Linked DNA regions of Homo sapiens: all the other regions are linked to region 3. The links are contacts of gene promoters, found by promoter capture Hi-C in human tissues and cell types (Jung and others, 2019). All regions are on one chromosome and are shown on one strand. The core of a region is centred on a gene start or on the middle of the fragment in contact, and the rest is flanking DNA. Distances in the headings are between cores, read along the strand shown. Region 1 overlaps CHAT (choline O-acetyltransferase). Region 2 overlaps PARG (poly(ADP-ribose) glycohydrolase). Region 3 holds the start of OGDHL (oxoglutarate dehydrogenase L). Region 4 overlaps C10orf53 (chromosome 10 open reading frame 53).

Region 1 (2,795 bases), core at 159-2,658, 120 kb before region 3:
TAACTCAAGTCAAAGCAGTTCTGTTTTGCAAGAGTGAGAAATACTTTTGTTTGAATTCTCATAGTCTCTGAGGACTGACAGCATAAAGATCACCCCCTAGGCCAGAGAGTCGGGAAGAATATGAGATGTGCGATGGCAGATTTACCTCCCAAAAGAAAAAAGTACTCCTTCATCAGGGGAGGAAAGATGCTGAGATAGGATTGGGAAAGGTTAAGAAGGTCTAAGCCCCTGAGAAAGATCCCAGTTCATCCATCTCCTGGACTGTGAGAAGGGGGATGGGCATGGCATAGAAATCTGACTTGTGCTAACTTCTCAGGGAATAGATCAGAGCAAGCAAAGGCAAGTGTCCCAAAGAGGGTGGTATATGTCCGGGGGTACTTGTGCACAGTAGTGCACATTAAAGAACATCTCCTGAGTCTTGCAGCCCTGCACAGAGAGAGATACCAGGTGCTATTTTGTCTGTGCTCATCAGAGTCTCAGCCTGTAAGCTTCCAACCTCTAATGCCAGCCTCAGGGCTCCCCGAGGCCTCCTGGCCTCTGGAATTTCCACACTACCAAAGCTGTCAGCTCCCTCCTTGGGCATGGGTGTCAGAGCAGGCTCCTCCTATTACTCAATCCCCACCTCTCACTATTACGCCGGGCTCCTTGAGGAAGATTGATTCGCCACTTTAAAGGAGCCTCGATGTGCTCGATGAGGATGCCACAAGACAAATGGCTCCTGCCGTGCGCCTTCAGCCCGTTGTCCCATGTTTCCATTACATTTGGGCCACAGTCATGGTGGATGAGCTTGGGTGTAGTGCTCATTTTCTGCCTTACATGATAAACTTGTCAGCATTTGACTGATCAGCTACTTATATGCAGGGAGTTCATTTGCAAGGCCACCTGGCTCCCCGCTCTGTTGTCCTGCTCCCATTTTACCCTGTCTAATGAGCCAGGACCTGGTTCCTGTTGGGCAGCGCTGGGCTCCTGGGCCCTGCAGAGCCTGCACATGATGGCAAGGCCTCAGTGCCTCCTCACAATCTGCCTCCCCTGCCTGGAGGTGACAAGGGCAGTGATGCCCAGGGAGCCATTCTTTCCTGCTGCCAGCCTTGCATTGCCCAGTTAAAAAGGAGTGTGCCAGGCCTCCACTCTCCTGCCTCGAGCCTGCATCAAGGCCTGCTCTCAGCCTCCTGACTGAGCAGGCATGCTGTGGGCTGCCTCAGGAGCTGCAGTCTGCCCACTCCACACTGGCTTTGGGGCTGTTTTTAAGGATCGCTTAGTGAAGGCAGCTACTAAGCCAGGGCTCTCAGAGTTCACCCTGAGGTATGGCCAACAGGAATGAGGTGTACAGCATTCAAGCTGCCTATGGCCCCGGCTTGGCTGGCCTTCAGGCCCATGCCTTTCCCAAGCTGCCAGGTATCCTAGACTCTGCTCTGACCACACTGAGCTCTTCCATGATCCTTCAGCACTCCCTGTTGTTGCTGGCTGAAGTCACATGACTGAGCTGGGCATTCATAGCCCTTGTTGATGAACCTGAGCACTGGGGTTGGATGCCTGAGATCAAACCCAGCTCCCTCCACTTAGTGGATGATTATTATCATCCGTGTTTACAAGAGAAACCTTGTAAATGGCCTAAGGTCAAGATATTTGGTTTCTCTGGTCCTGACCTGTAAATGAGGCATGACAATGATACCTATCTTATATGCATCAATATGCATGTTTAGATTGATATTTGGCACATAGTAGGTGCTCAACAAAGGTTAGCTAATAGCATCACATCATTATGTTCTTCCAGCCCCACCTAAATCCTGCATGCCCTCACCCATAAGCTGGAGGTCAAGCCGATCACTCACAAGCTCTGCTTACAAGCCTGGGGATCTGTTCTCCGGCCATCCAAACCACTGTCCCACCCTCCATCCACCACCCTGCACTACTATACACCTCCTGGCATGCCTCTCCCTTCTTCTTTGCTGATCTGAACCTGACCCAGACCTGGCCAAGGCCTCCCCGGGGCTCTGAAGGCACTGGCTAGCCTGAGCCTGCAGGGACCAGTAGCACAGCACATAGTGCAGGGCGAGCACTATGGCCATCTGCAGGGATGCCTAAGGAGGGGAGAAGGGCAGAGCAGGGAGCCTTGCAAGGGGGAAGAAGCCCTACCTTGTCCCAGCCTCACCCTACCCCCACTCCCCCATCAATTCATGAAGCTCAAAGCCTCAAAAGTAGTTGGGTTTTGCCCTTCATAAGGACATGGCCTTTCCCCTTCCCATTAGCCAGCTGGACACCTCCAGGCCCCCTGTCTGAACTGGGTCCACAGATCCCAGCCCTACTTTGCCCAGGCCAAGGGAAGCACACTAAAGTCCATTACCCAGCATGGACTGTGCTTGCCTTGTTCAGGAGGCCCAGGCCCCACCCTCAGTGAGTGCTGATATGGGGGAGGGGACCAGACCAGGGGTCCAGGGGCTGCAAGTGCTGACTGTCCAAAGCACGGTGGTCTGGGAATGGCATTGGGGTCATGTGCTGTGCAGCAGGGGCTGGTGGTCAGGGATTGGGGGGCACCTCTGGGCTCAGGTGCTGTGTGAGGCTGGCCTGACAAGAGTGCAATTCCACATCTGCACTGAGCAAGCTGTGGAGGCCACGTGCTCAGGGTGTTAGGAGTCCTCCAGGGCAGGGCTGGTACTGCCAGAGGATGAGGGAGCTCAGGGAGGGCTGTCATAGACAGAGGAGGAGAAGGGCCTTGTCCTGGGCACAGCCTGCGTGATGATGAGGAGATGGGATGTCCACAGGATCAGGGAGGGGCAGGAGGTTGTCTGTGAGGT
Region 2 (2,727 bases), core at 226-2,725, 68 kb after region 3:
GAGGCTGAAACAGGAGGATCCCTTGAGCCCAGGAGGTTGAGGCTGCAGTGAGCTATGATCGCGCCATTGCACCCTAGCCTGGGTGACACAATGAGACCCTGTATCTTACAAAAACAAACAACTAATTGTGGTAAAACACAAAACTCATGTACAATTAAGTAACAAGCATGTTAAAAATATTTTGCCAGCCGGGCACGGTGGCTCATGCCTGTAATCCCAGCACTGTGGAAGCTGAGGCAGGTGAATCATTAGGTCAGGAGTTCGAGACCAGCTTGGCCAACATGGTGAGACCCTGTCTCTGCTAAAAATACAAAAAATTAGCTGGGCGTGGTGGCAGGCACCTGTAATCCCAGCCACTCGGGAGGCTGAGGGAGGAGAATTGCTTGAACTCAGGAGGTGGAGGTTGCAGTGAGTCGAGATAGTGCCACTGCATTCCAGCCTGGGCGACAGTGCAAGACTCCGTCTCAAAATAAAAAAAAAAAAATTTGCCTTCTTTCTTTTGTAATTTTCTTTTTTTGTAAGAGATGTGGTCTTACTAGGCTGACCTTGAACTTCAGGGCTCAAACATTCCTCCCACCTCAGCCTCCCAAGTAGCTGGGACTATAGGCGCATACCATTGTGCTCAGCTTAGCCTTATTTCTATTAATAATTAAAGAAATACAAGTTTAAGGATTTATACCTGCCCATGTTACCCACCATGAACATTTTTTATAAGATTTTTTTGTTACAAAAACAATATATGCTCACAATAAAAAAGATGCAGATTAAAAATAAAGTATAAAACATCACTGACCAAGTGTGGTGGCTCACAAGTGTAATCACAACACCAGCCTAGGCAACATAGTGAAACCCCATCTCTACTAAAAATAAAAAATGAAAAAACCCCCAACAAAACAAAACAAAGACTATCACCCACTAGAGAACAACCATAGTTAATCCTGGCACGTAAACAGATGAACATAGAGAACTGCAAATTTGTGTGTGATATTTTATATTCACAATTTAATTTTAAAATGGTTTATATGGCATACATTGGGTATTTCTCCCATTTGTCAATATTCCAAAACCATCTTTCCCTGTCAGCAGACACATTTCTATAATGGTTTTTAAAGGAAGCATAATATTTTATTGCATAAATGTACCATAATTTCTTTTTTTTTTAGCATCATAGTTTAGTAACCAATTCCCCATTGAAGGACTTTATGACTCATTCTAAATTTTTAATGAATATTTATGCTAATGAAGGGGAGGGAAATGTCAGTTACTCCAAAATTTAAATCTCAATAGTTGAGGAAATGAATTATATAATGGAAATCTTAGACTACTATGCTTGATAGTCACCAGAGCAAGCACAGCTGCAGTCTGAAAGGCTTTTAAGCCAGAAAAAAAGAAAAAAGGAAAAGAAGTGAACACATTTATAAAGCTTTCCAAACTGTCTATCACAAATGACCACGGCTTACAGCAGACCTAGCTTCTGGATTGATGACTTGAATCTAGTCATTCATTTTACTTAAGAGAAAGACAGGAAAAAAGTATCTGTCGTAAGATCAATAAGCCCAGAGTGAAAAATAGGTTTCCTCAAACACCGAAAATAGCACCATGCAGTTTTTGTCTTTGAATTTGAAGAAAATGTAGGTGAAAGTCTTTAGCATAAAGGGACAGGAAACATCTTTATAAGCACACCACAAAAATGTGAACACATAAAAGCTAACTCAGTAACTTCAGCCTGATCGGTTGAAATAAATGAAGAAGCAGAAAAATGTTTATAACATGTAACAGTTAAACAATTAATATTTTTTAATATACAAAGAGTTATTACTAGCCAGTGATAAAATCAAACTACTCCCAAAGAGATGAATGGGCAGAAGGCATGAAAAAGCAATTCACAAAACAAACAAATGGCCAATAAACACGAAAACTGTTGAACCTTAGAGAAATGAAAAATAGTAACAAAGTCCTGTCTTGGTGATGCTGTTCATGTGAGGAAGACAATGTGAATTGATATCACCTTTCAGAGTGAAATCTACAAGGATCAAAATGAAGTATACGTATTCTTTGAGTCATTAATCTCACCTCTAGGAATTTACCTTAAGAAGATAATTACACATAATATATATAATTGTACTACACACTGTAGTACTCCTTATAATATAATGAAAACAAACTCTGAATGGAGAATCTGTGAAATAAATTATGGTACATATGTGCATACAACAGAATACTGTGTAGCCACTAACAAATGCTGAGTACTCAGTAGATCTACATTTGTTAGATGGATAGTTGAAAACTATCCATGAGACTGCAGACTTTCTAAAAGGAGGAGGCTGGAGAATAGAATAGAGGGTGTCACTTCATCAAGTTACATACATTGCTACTGAGATGACCTGAAGAATGGTCACCAAATGCTGACAGTGAATTCTAGTGATTTTTATATACTTCATGGTATTTTTCTAGATTAAAAAAAAATAATAAATGTGTCATTTTTATAAAAATATTAAGAAGCATTTTACTGATGAGGGGAAAGGCAGTTACATTATGACAGACTCAAGTATTCTCAAAGAGATGAATTTTATCTAAATATAGTTCAGCTATTAAGGCCAGCTGGCTGTTTTATGTCTGCTTTATTGCTTGTTACTTTGTAACTGTGGTATAAAAAAGAATTTTTCTGGTGTGCCATCTTGGGTTCCTGGTAAAAGCTTCAAACACCCTTGGAATTTCCTGAGTGCT
Region 3 (2,700 bases), core at 85-2,584:
TCTGGGTTGGCCACTGGGCACTGTTGTGACCTTGACCCAGCCTGGCAGGAGGGCAGCCTGCCACCCACCCCCACCTGCATCCCAGCAGGGCATGAGGGCTCAGTATCTAGAGCCAGAGCCCAAGCCAGCCCTACTAGTTCCTGCCCATACAGTCAAGGACAGCAACAAGGAGTGAGAGTCAGGTGCCCTGTGCAACCCCCTGCCCAGTCCAGACTCCAGCAGAGTTGCCCTGGGTATCTCTTGGGGGTCTCTTCTCTGAGGACAAGGTCACATAGCATCCCCAACCCAACCTCAGAACCTCAACCCAACCCCAGAAAACTGCCGACACCATGGCCACTAAGACTCCCACACACACAACCCTGTCTGGGGTGCCCTAGTGAGGACTACTCCCTAATGCACCCATTGCAGAGATCAGTAAACAGAGGCCGGGAAGGGTTCTCCCCAGAGGGCCCTCCAAGCTGGGCAGCAGCAGAGCCTGGATTCTCTCAGCAGCAGGTCTACTCTGACCCCACTTTCTGAGAAGCAGATGAGCTTTTGCTCAGCAACAAACCGCAATTCTATTTAGTTGGGGCCTGTTCCAAGACACTGGGGAGGGGCTGCTAGGGCCTGCTTGAGCCAGGTGGCCGAGGGGCGTCAAAGGGTCTCTCCGGTTCGGCGAATGCGTACTGCAGCCTGCTGTGGCCTCGGGATTACCCCGTCCCCCTCCCACATCTCCCGGGGGGCGGAAGAAGCGCATCCCATGCAAGCAGCGACCTCAGGCCATGCCGCCCTCTCTCAGGCCTCAGTTTTCTCATCTGTAATCGGAGACCGCGGTTAAAACCGTCTATTAGGCTCCTTGGTAGTCCGAAGCTGCCTATGGGTCCCGCCAGGTGCACAGCGCTGACCCTCCCCATCCCCCGCACAGCCCTCGCAGCTCCGGGCCCTCCCCTGGCCACGGAAGGCGCGGGGCAGTCTGAAGTCCTCGGGCTGGAGAAACCCACCGCGAGCACCCGCTCCTCTGCGCAGGACCCTGGACTAGCCGGGTGGTACGCGCGCGATGGGCTGGGGGTCCCGGGGGAGGCCACGGCCAGCCAAGGTCAGAGCCAAGGTCACAGTCTGTTCCTCCTCCCCCTCCCCCCGGCGGGGCCAGACTCAGGGCTGCGGGCAGCGGCGCCCCAGGACCCAGGAGAGAGGAGCTGTGGGGCCGGTCCCCAGGACGGCAGGAGAAGCAGCGGCGCAGGGACCGGGAGGGGGCGGGCCGCCGCGCTCACCGGGCGGGCGGGCCGGGTCCGCGCTGCAGCGAGGTCCGGAGGCTGCAGGTCAGGGGGCTGCGCGGAAGGGGTGCGCGCGCGCCGTGCCAATTACCTGGGTCACGTGACGCAGCCGCCCACGGGCGCGCGCCCCTGAGACTCCGCGCGTCGTGACGTCTCCATGGATGCCCCGCCCCGCTCCTGGCGCTGTCCACGGTGCTGGCGGCCCAGGCCCGAGGTCGCCCACGGCCGAAGGGGGGACTCCTCTCTGAGACCGCAGAACGGGGCTGAGGCCCTGAACCCCGTGTGCTCGTCCTAAAACTAGGACGAATGTACCAGACGACAAGCAGCCTTTGTGTGTAGGAGAGGATAGGTTTTGTTTTGTCGTCTGTAAAATGGGAATGCTATGAAAAGTTCCACTATCTTAGGGATGTTTTGAAAAAAAGATGAGATAATGCGTGAAAAGTGCTTACCCCAAATCTGATACACATTTTACCCATTCATCCTCCCACTGATGGTGACCCAGGCTGTCCTCACCACCCCGTGGCCACAAACAAGGCTGCAATGAACTTCTTCATACACATTCCCTTAGGATCCTGCGTGGAACTTTCTCTGGGATAGAGATCAACTTTCTAATTATTATCAGAATAGCAGATGCAATGTCCTGTTATTGTTTTAATCTGCATTTCTCTGGTTATCAACCATTTGCATCTCCCGTTGTTTGTTAGTTTGGGGTTTTCTGTTGTATTTTTTTCAGCTTTCTGTTGGGTTTTGTTCTCATTTAAATGCAGGGATTTCTTGTATAGGAACATAACATACCTGTGGTTCAAGTTGCCATCAAATCTCTCCTGGATTATCGCAGCAGCCTCCTAACTGGCTTCTCTGCTTCTACACTTACACTCTTGAATTTTAATCTCAAAACTACAGTATGCACTTCACAAGAATATATTCAAGTACATATCAAACCAATTAATATGGTTGCTTGTCGAGGGAGGAGGATGGGGAATGTGGATATGAGGTAATTAATCAATTACCCAGATCACTGCTGACAGAGTGCCACGAAGAAAGGAATACAACTAACTTCTGCACCTGAAGTCTCCCAAAAGTTCTTTATTTGGAGACAGTTAGGGATACATGTGGTCAAGAATCTTCAGCACTTAACACAGCACTATCATGGTATTTTTCAGTAAATATTTGTTGAATGAATGACTGAGTGAGTAAATGGACACTTGACTTGGATCCTGAAGGATGAGTAAGATTTTATCTGGTGCAGAAGGGCAGGGTTCATTGGGAATTCTTTGGACACAAGCACCAAAAATGACCTGGCTAGCTTCAGCCGAAAACGAGTTGATATGAAGGTTGTATATAAGGCAACTCACAGAATCAGAGGAAAGCTGAAAATTTACTTCAGGAAGCAGGGCTGAGCCATAGAGGAACTGTCTCTTCAAGGCTCTTCTGTTTTTCAAAATTC
Region 4 (2,700 bases), core at 71-2,570, 66 kb before region 3:
AACCACATCATTTATAACATGTCTCAATCTCAACCCATAGGGAGAGCCCTCCAATATCAGGTACACATTGAGCTGAAGGAAACAATAAAATGCAATCAAATAACAAGGTGCCATTCCTGACTAATAACACATAGTTGCCAGAAGCATCTGAGATTCCATTGTTTAGTACTCAAAGTGCTCAGAACAGGTGAAATTAAAGAGAGGTTGGGGGAAGAGTGGGAATAAAGGCTTTTGAAAGTCTGAACCAAAAGCAAATGTTAATATTTGGAAACCTTGCTATTCCTACAGATTTATTTCTGACTCCTGAGGGAATAAATATTTTAAATTGCTATTATAAAATTAGCCAAAATCAAATCTTCAATTTCTCTCATCTAAAACAAGAAAATGACCTGCCTTCTTTTGCATTAATATCGTCTGAGGAGGGCGCAAAAGAGTCCTCAGCAGAATGTGAGATGGTTCCCTGGTCCCTCTGGAGTAGAACACAGCCCCATAGAGTTAAAGAGGGTTTTCACTATGTTCAGTGTGAAAATCAGTCATGTCGAAATGATATTTTTACTTTCCACTCTTACGCACCAATGTGTAGTATATATTCTTAACTATAGAGTAACAGAGAGGGGGAAATGCAGATATTGATCTAATGACGTCAAATGGGAGGTCATGGTAAGAAGGCCTCACACCTACGGGGAGAAAACCAGATTCCCTAACAGAAAACTCTGGACCCGGGGCACCTGTGCTGAAGGAGCAGGGCTTTCAGGATCGCTCAGAGACCTGCGGCTTCACCTGCTCTGAGAGCAGTCCTAACCATCGCCCCAGGCAGCCTCAAACCCTCCTGCACCCCAGAACTTCAAAGACCACTGGGGACCATGAAACTGCTTGCACAAGTTCCTTCTCACACAGGACAAAGTAGGGGATATAATTTTTAAAACCCCAGCCCAAGCTTCACTTGTCAGAGTTGATTCAGGGATTGTGAATCACTTAGAACTCTATGGAACTATTTAAGCATCTCCTTACTGAGAAACTGAGGCTCAAAAGAGATTCTTCCTCCCAGTGTCTGGTGCTGGTTTTCACATATCTTTTGTAACCCTACATTTAGTCCCTTTTTTTCAAAACCCAGTTTAAGTTACTATAGATGTAGCATTCAATCTTTGTTTCAATATAACATTTTACTACAAGAGAAATCCATTCTCATTAAAGAAAAATGGAAAAATACAGGTAAAAATAAAGTACAACTTTAGTAACATTTTTATATATTTCAATTTGGGTTTCTTCTGTTTATGTCTGAATATTCATAAAGAGATAGACATATAGAAATTGACTTCATCCATTTGAGATTTATGCACAATTTTGTAAGTTTTTAAAAATTTTTCAACTTTTATTTTAGATACAGGGGGTACATGGGCAGGTATGTTGAATCTTTTTTTAAACGTAACATTTTACATAGAGCCTCTTCCCGCATGATTTGTTGACTGTCTGAGCATTTTATCTTGAATCAGGAAATCTCTCCCTTGAGCTGTGATTTCTACTTTCATGGCCAAAACTTTTTCAATGCTGAGAACTGAAATTGCTAGCTTCCCCTGTCTGCATTTGGAGTGGGAACTTCATCTCCAAACACAGTGGAATCCTGTCTCCTCTAGCCCTGCAACCCCGGCATTAAACTGGTAACAAGTGCTTCCCTCGGCAGCCCCATGCCCTCCTCCAGCATCCGCCTCAACCCCGCAGGTTGTATTTGTGCCTTCAGAGTAGCACTACAAGTGAAGAAGACCTGCCCTCCTTGGCTTCATGACCAGAGCTGAAGGGCAGGTAAGGCGAGACAGTACACGGATTCTAAGAAATACCGGAGAAGCTTCTGGGAGATGCCTGTGCCCAGAGCCCTATGTTTCAGTTTGGATCAGAGGCAAATGATGTCTGAATCAGCATTGCTGGGAAAAATCACCGAGGTTTCCTCTGAGCAGTGGGATTGGGGGGTGTGGGGGGCAGGTGAGGTAGAGGGAGGAAGTTTGCAGGGCTATTCTGCCTTCCGTATTGTAAATGTTTTTAGTGGTGGAATTGATTTTCACTTTGTATGTAAGTGTGTGTTAGGGGTACTTTTCAGATAAAAACTTAAAATCAGGGCCGGGCACTATGGCTTTTGCCTGTAATCCCAGCACTTTGGGAATCCAAGGTGGGTGGATTTGTTTGAACACAGGAGTTCGAGAGCAGCCTGGCCAACATGGTGAAGCCTCATCTCTACAAAAAATACAAAAATTAGCCAGGCCTGGTGGCATGCACCTGTAGTCCCAGCTACTTGAGGGGCTGAGGCAGGAGGATCACCTGAGCCCAGGAGCTAGAGGCTGCAGCGAACCTAGATCACGCCACTGCACTCCAGCCTGGGTGACAAAGTGAGACCCTGTCTCAGAAAATAAAATAAAGATTTTGACATAGAAGCCACCTGTCTATGGCCTTATCCTCCTCTGTCACTGATTAAGAGGAACTTTCTCTATGGAAATCTCTGAAGAATGTGCTGTCATCCTCCTCCTTTGCCTCCCTCTCTCGAGCACGCACCTCCCTGCCCAGAAGCAAGAGACACAGCTTGCTCCCCATCAAAGGCAAAAGTGCCCTGTGCTTCAACGTGCTAGACATTCGGGCGCCTTCATGCTTTTAAAATACCACTGATTAAATCACATTTTAAGTTTTATAAGATGTCAAGTCAATGTCGTTATG

Evidence for each region. The method cuts DNA at HindIII sites, captures the fragments that hold promoters and counts their contacts. A contact is called where the count stands out against the background at its distance.
Region 1: a fragment that was not itself captured here is called in contact with the fragment with the promoter of OGDHL in region 3 in 3 of the 25 tissues and cell types used here (H1 embryonic stem cells, aorta and pancreas).
Region 2: a contact is called between a fragment that was not itself captured here and the fragment with the promoter of OGDHL in region 3, in 2 of the 25 tissues and cell types used here (liver and mesendoderm cells).
Region 4: a contact is called between a fragment that was not itself captured here and the fragment with the promoter of OGDHL in region 3, in 5 of the 25 tissues and cell types used here (H1 embryonic stem cells, bladder, pancreas and 2 more).

What each region holds. Positions count from the first base shown.
Region 1 is chr10:49,641,482-49,644,276 of GRCh38, forward strand. The region is part of intron 7 of CHAT (choline O-acetyltransferase); the gene reads left to right. Among named protein-coding and RNA genes, the nearest start is that of CHAT, 29 kb to the left of the region's middle. The HindIII fragment of the contact is 6,718 bases long and covers 1-2,795 here.
Region 2 is chr10:49,828,770-49,831,496 of GRCh38, forward strand. All of the region lies in intron 16 of PARG (poly(ADP-ribose) glycohydrolase), which reads right to left. Among named protein-coding and RNA genes, the nearest start is that of OGDHL, 68 kb to the left of the region's middle. RefSeq lists an enhancer at 2,140-2,727. The HindIII fragment of the contact is 3,975 bases long and covers 1-2,727 here.
Region 3 is chr10:49,760,989-49,763,688 of GRCh38, forward strand. It overlaps OGDHL (oxoglutarate dehydrogenase L), which reads right to left and starts at 1,335. Exons shown (of 23, transcript NM_018245.3): 1 at 1,251-1,335. RefSeq lists a silencer at 1,086-1,295. The HindIII fragment of the contact is 26,824 bases long and covers 1-2,700 here.
Region 4 is chr10:49,694,800-49,697,499 of GRCh38, forward strand. It overlaps C10orf53 (chromosome 10 open reading frame 53), which reads left to right. Exons shown (of 3, transcript NM_001042427.3): 3 at 1-2,700. Among named protein-coding and RNA genes, the nearest start is that of C10orf53, 16 kb to the left of the region's middle. The HindIII fragment of the contact is 4,554 bases long and covers 1-2,700 here.